2 separate regions of the Homo sapiens genome follow, and region 1 is linked to region 2. Evidence: promoter capture Hi-C in 16 types of primary human blood cells and fetal thymus (Javierre and others, 2016). All regions are on one chromosome and are shown on one strand. Each heading gives the region's core, a stretch centred on a gene start or on the middle of the fragment in contact. The rest is flanking DNA. Distances are from core to core; before and after follow the strand shown. Region 1 overlaps TERF2IP (TERF2 interacting protein). Region 2 holds the start of ZNRF1 (zinc and ring finger 1).

What was found. Contacts are between HindIII fragments. The CHiCAGO score rates a contact against its expected background, and 5 or more counts as called.
Region 1: a fragment that was not itself captured here is called in contact with the fragment with the promoter of ZNRF1 in region 2 in 2 of 17 cell types (neutrophils and naive CD8 T cells); the score reaches 6.2 in neutrophils.

Annotation. Positions count from the first base shown.
Region 1 is chr16:75,651,986-75,654,932 of GRCh38, reverse strand. TERF2IP (TERF2 interacting protein) reads right to left here. Exons shown (of 3, transcript NM_018975.4): 2 at 536-660. Among named protein-coding and RNA genes, the nearest start is that of TERF2IP, 5.7 kb to the right of the region's middle. The HindIII fragment of the contact is 2,243 bases long and covers 361-2,603 here.
Region 2 is chr16:74,997,774-75,000,695 of GRCh38, reverse strand. ZNRF1 (zinc and ring finger 1) reads right to left here and starts at 1,672. Exons shown (of 5, transcript NM_032268.5): 1 at 601-1,672. The coding sequence starts at 1,024. RefSeq lists silencers at 651-960, 1,361-1,880. The HindIII fragment of the contact is 6,289 bases long and covers 1-2,922 here.

The DNA.
Region 1 (2,947 bases), core at 233-2,732, 650 kb before region 2:
CACAGTGAAACCCCGTCTCTACTAAAAATACAAATAATTAGCCAGGCATGGTGGTGGGCGCCTGTAGTCCCAGCTACTCGGGAGGCTGAGGCAGGAGAATGGTGTGAACCCAGGAGGCGGAGCTTGCAGTGAGCCAAGATCGCACCACTGCACTCCAGCCTGGGCGACAGAGCCAGACTCTGGCTCAAAAAAATAGAAAAAACAATTACTATAAACTTTTTGAAAAATATATTGACATTAAAGTACTCAAAGTGGGATGCTTTATACTGTTTATACAACTGTCCCTATTCTACCCAATTTTTCTCCCTTTCCCCCTCAACTTGTCCTGCCAAAAACTAAAAGCTTTGTGAAGCAAAAGCTTCAGGGCAACATGTCTGAAGCCCAGATCAGTCCCATTTTCCATTTTCCCTTTCCATCTTGAACTCCTCTCTCACTTTCCTGAGCCCCAGGTAGATGAAAAAGGTGTACAGGATAACCAGTTTCAAAGAAGAATGAAGGTAGGGAAAAAAATAATGAGTAAATCTAGTTAACATACCACAACCTCCTCAAACTCCCGGGTGGCTTCCACAAGCATCTTTTTGACTGCTTCTTCATTCTCCTGGATTTCTTCCTTCACATACTCTTCTTCAGGCAAATCTGGAGTTCTCTTATTCTGTGGTTCTGTTAAAGAGAAGAACAGCACAGATTAGCAATAGCCTCTTTTACATAAACCAAAAATATATTTGCTGTGTGAGCTCTGGGCCAGGAGTGAGCCTGCACTTTTTTTTTTTTTTTTTTTTTTTTTACTATCAGAAGACATCTGTTCTTGATTCAGAAGGGTAAAAAAAGCCTAGGACGTGCTCATTCACCCATTTCTATGCTTGCTTCTGAAAAGATGTACTATCCAAACAATGATACATTCTTAAACTCTGACATATAAAAATGCTCAAGTTTAATTCATTTTTTGCTTTGTAGTTACAGACTTTGCAAATTAATAAAAATGTGTCATAAATTGGGTTCCTTGGGAAGCAAATTCTGAGATGGAGATGGAAATTTAAAGAATTGGGAAGTGATTTTGGGAAAACCTTTGTGGAAGAGCAGGAGTGGGCAGAGAGAGAAGCTGACTTATCAAAGAGTTTCAACAAGACCTCAGCCAAAACCATGGGCAACTCTGGAGCTAGGAAGGCCCTTCAGAACTGACCAAGCTGGGGCCAAGGAGCAGACTTTGTAACTCTGCAAATATCAGTCACTGGATGGTGGCAGCCCTAAGAAGACAGGAGTTTGGGCAAGGCAGCTCTCCTAGCAGCCAAAGGCAGATCTGGGCCACGTACCACAATCCACCAATATACCATCTACAAAAAGGAGGGCCTCCTAAATTTAAACATCCTGTTCCTTTCCTTTACATTTTGTTCTCTGAAGATTTAACTCTGCTCCTTTTCTACTTACTAAAACATACTACAAAGGGGCAGCAAGAGGGAGTTTTTCGTGATGGAATTGTTCTAAATCCCAATGTGGGTGCTGGTTACAAAAATTTACCTATGTTAAAACACATATAACTGGAAAAGAGTACAGCAGTTCCTCAAAAAATTCAATATAATTTCATGATGACAACCCACAAGGAAAAAGAAAAAATTAAACATAAAATTACCATATGATCCAGCAATTGCATTTCTAGGCATATACCTAAAATAATGGAAAGCAGGGTCTCAAACAGATACTAGTTATACCCATGTTCACAGCAGCATTATTCAAAATAAACAAAAGATGGAAATAAGCCAAATGTCAATTGATACATTAATGGAAAAACAAAATGTAGTATATACATACAATGGAATATTATTCACCTTTAAAAAGGAATCAAATTCTGACACATGCTACAATATGGATGAACTTTGAAGATATTATGTAAAGTGAAATAAGCCAGACACAAAAGGGCAAATATTACATGATTCTACTTGTATGAGGTATCTAGAAATATTGAATTCATAGAAACAGAAGGCGGAATGGTTGTTTCCAGGGGCTAAGAGGAGGGAGAAATGGGGAATTAGTGTTTAATAGGCATGTTTCTGACCCCTAGAAGCAGAAAATAATAAAAGGCATGGAGTTTCAGTTTTAGAAAATGAGTAAGTTCTAGATACAGATGGTGGTGACAGTTGCCCAACAATGTGAATGCACTTAATAATGCCACTGAACAGAACACTTAAAAAACTATCTGAACTGTAAATTTTACGGTATATACATTTTACCACAATAAAAAATAAAGTTTTTAAAATGCATATAATTTTACACCATAAAAAGTTAATTTTACTGTATGTATTTAATAAAATTCTTAAATAGTAACTAAAAGAGGCTTATCTTTGAGAGATACATGCTAAAATAGATAAAATGATATGATGTCTGGCATTTGCTTCAAAACAGTCCAGGAAGTTGGGATGAAAAGTATAGATTTAAAAAATGCCATGAACTAAAATCAGGTGAAGGTGGGTGATGGGTATATGCAGTATAGTTCATTATACTATTCTGTATTTGTAAATGCTTGGAATTCTCCATAATAAAAAGTAAATTACTGTTCATTCACATAATGAAATACAGTGCAATCAATTAGAAAAGAATGAGGAAAAGCTTTGTGCAGACACACAAACACTTCAAGATAAATAATTAAGTTTAAAAAAAGTAAACCACAGATTAAGTTGATGTCTAGTGTGCTAGTATTACTATGAGCAAAGGGGACATGCAACAGACAAGAGACGGTAATAGAGGCTGCCCCTAGGAAAGGACCCAGGGAAAAGGGTATGTAAATAGGGAGACTGCCTTTTCAGTATGTACCCATTTGTACTCTGAGTATATCTACGGGATAAATTCCTAGAACAAAACTGCCATGTTTAAGGGAATATACGTTATAAATGTCATCAGATATTGTCAAAATGCCCCCCAAAGAAATTGTATCAATTTCTATTAACAACGTAGG
Region 2 (2,922 bases), core at 423-2,922:
GCCGGCTGGGCCCTCCGTACAGCAGCCACACCTGTCTATGCCAGCCGCCTGCCGGCTGCTCCATTTTAAACATTTCAAACAGATCTCCAGCAGGGTGGCAAAACTGGGCACCTCTCTCTCCCAGCAAGAGTGAGAGCCCTAATCCAGGCATCACTTGCCCCTGATTTTATTTCATTTTCACACACTCTGTTTAGGAGACACTGCTTGCTCCAACTGGCTCCATCTCTCCGTTACCGGTGAGGCAGGCACAGTGCTGCAGTGGCAGAATGGAAGTACCCAGGCTGACTTGCTCTCAGCCAGACACGACCTCTTCTCTGAGGAGGGTGATGCCAATAAATGGAACTCCAATAGGTAGGCTTCGCTCTGCCCTTCCACAAGTGAACACACGCCGTGAGTCCCTAAATCGCCAGGCTCCGCAGCCTCGCAGAAAGCCTAGTTTCCAGACGGTAGGTATCCCATTTATCCCTTGGCATCGGGAACCAAAGGGAATGCAGACAGATCCCGGTCGTGCACTACATTCCCAAACCTTGGCACGCACGCGAAGGCTTGGGGCGCCCCGGCGCGCCCTCCCTCCGAGGCCTCCACCACCCGCGGACTCACCACTATGCGAGCTGAACCACCTGGGTGCGATGTGCAGAGGTAGAGCATCCGCCAGCGAGGCTCGGGAGCCCAGGTACAGCATCCCGTCTCTATGGTGACCGCCGCCCGTCTCCTGGTAACCATTGCCATGGGCATAGGTGGAGTCGGACGCAGACCCTCCGCCGCCGGGCGCCCTCTCGGAGTCGCCGGTGCCCCGGGAGGCGGGGGTGTAGAGGCCAAAGGGCACCCCCCCGGCCGTGCTGGGGTCCATGCCCATGCCTGCCACCGAGCTGACCGAGCGGCTGCGCAGCCCCATGGCCCCGCCGCCCGTCCGGTAGTGCCCGAAATGGGGCGCCCCTCCCGGCGGCGGCACGGCGCTGTCATCGGTGGAGACCCCCGGGAAGGGGCCCCGGGAGCGGGCCGCCGTGCTCTGCTTGCCCCCCATGCTCGCCCGGGCCCCGGTGGGGCGGGAACCTGGAGGCCGAGACCCTCCCCCACTTCTCAGCAGCAGGGGGAGGGCTGGGCGAGCATAAAGGGGGAGGGAGTCAAAAAGGAGACCCGGAGGGAGAAAAGGAAAAAAAGCAAAAGGAAAAAAGGAAAAAACCCGCGGGGCGGAAGAGGCAGGCGGGCGGGCGGGGATCCCAAACTCAGAATTTCAAACGATCCAAGGCAAACGCATGTTTCCCCTCAAGGTCCAAAGAGGCGCAGTCCGGCGCGGGCTCCGCGCGCCACAGGCCGCCCCCGGGCTCCGAAAGCCGGGGGAGCCGCAGGGAAGGAGGGAGGGAGGCGGCGGCGAGCGGCGGGCGGGCGCGGGGAGGCGCCGGAGGAGGCCGCCCGCCCCGCGGGAGGAGGCGGAGGAGGGCCGGGGGCGCCGGGCGCGTCCCCCGCCTCAGGACGCCGCGACCATGGACGGCGGCCCGGACCCCTCCAGGCCTCGGGCGGGCCGCGGCGCTGGGCGGCCAGGCGCAGCTCGGGAAGCCGCGGTCGCGTCGCGTCGCGCTCTCGCTTCAGCCGCCGCCGGCCCCGCCAGCCGCGCCGCCCCGCTCGGTCCCGGGCTGCGCTCGCCGGCGCTCCTCGCCGCCGTGGAGACAATGGAGGGCGGCAGAGCGCAGGCGCGGCCCGCGCCCCCTCCCCCTCCCCCCGCCGGGTTAACCCTTTCGCGGTCCCTGCGGCGCCTGGGCCGCTGACGCCCCAGCAGTCCCCACCCACCGCCCGCCCCCGGCCGGCCTGTGACCTGGGCGGCCTGACCACTGGGCGTTAGCCACAGAAACCAGATGTCTTTCAAAAGCAAACACTTCTTAAGTCCCCGAAAGTGGCAAATTATTCAGGGGGAACCAAGTATGGGGGAGGGGCAGCAATGGTTCGAGGGGGTGGGAAGGAAACACCGGGAAGAAGGAGATTTACTCCTTACGCCTACCTGGCTCTGAGGGTCACCGGTCGAGCTCCCCTCCTGGCACAAATTTGCCCCCACAGCACCCTCTGGTGGACGTGATGTCCATTCTTTCGGGGGTTCCCCATCCAAGCACCCCTCACGTCCGGAATCTCAACATTTGGCGGGGTTTAGTTATTTGGGGGTAAACAGCGCCATGGGGACACTTGTGAATCCGGCGTTTTGCTGACACTAGATCATAACTTCCTATTTTGGGCTTAAGCAAATGAGTAGATTCCTTAGCTAAAATGTAATTTTCAGAATCAATAGATGTACCATAAAAAGTGAATAGATATGGGTATGGAAATAGAACAACGCAGCTAGAAGTGATTATAGAAACCTTCTGTCCAAGGCTGGAGCCCTGTTTTGTTTACCATGTGCTGTGTTTCGGCCCTCACCACGGGCCAAGGACACGGTGGGTACTCAATAGGTGTATTGTTGACCAAGCCTGAATCATTTGCAAGGGAGTGTTCCTTTGCTACCTCAAGCCGTCTTTCTCCTATATTCACATTCATTTATTGAACAACTGTTTTTTTTGTTTTGTTTTGTTTTTGTTTTTGAGACGTAATCTCGCCCTGTCACCCAGGCTGGAGTGGTGTGGCGTAACCTCGGCTCACCGCAACCTCCGCCTCCCGGATTCAAGTGATTCTCCTGCCTCAGCCTCCCGAGTAGCTGGGATTACAGGCACATGCCACACTGCACCTGGCTAATTTTTTGTATTTTTAGTAGAGGCGGGGTTTCACCGTATTGGCCAGGCTGGTCTTGAACTCCTGACCTCAGGTAATCCACCTGCCTTGGCCTCCCAAAGTGTTAGGATTACAGGCATGAGCCACCGCGCCCGCCCTGTTTTTCTTTTTCTTTTTTTTCTTTTCTTTTTTTTTTTTTTTGAGACGGAGCCTTGCTCCTCCCAGGCT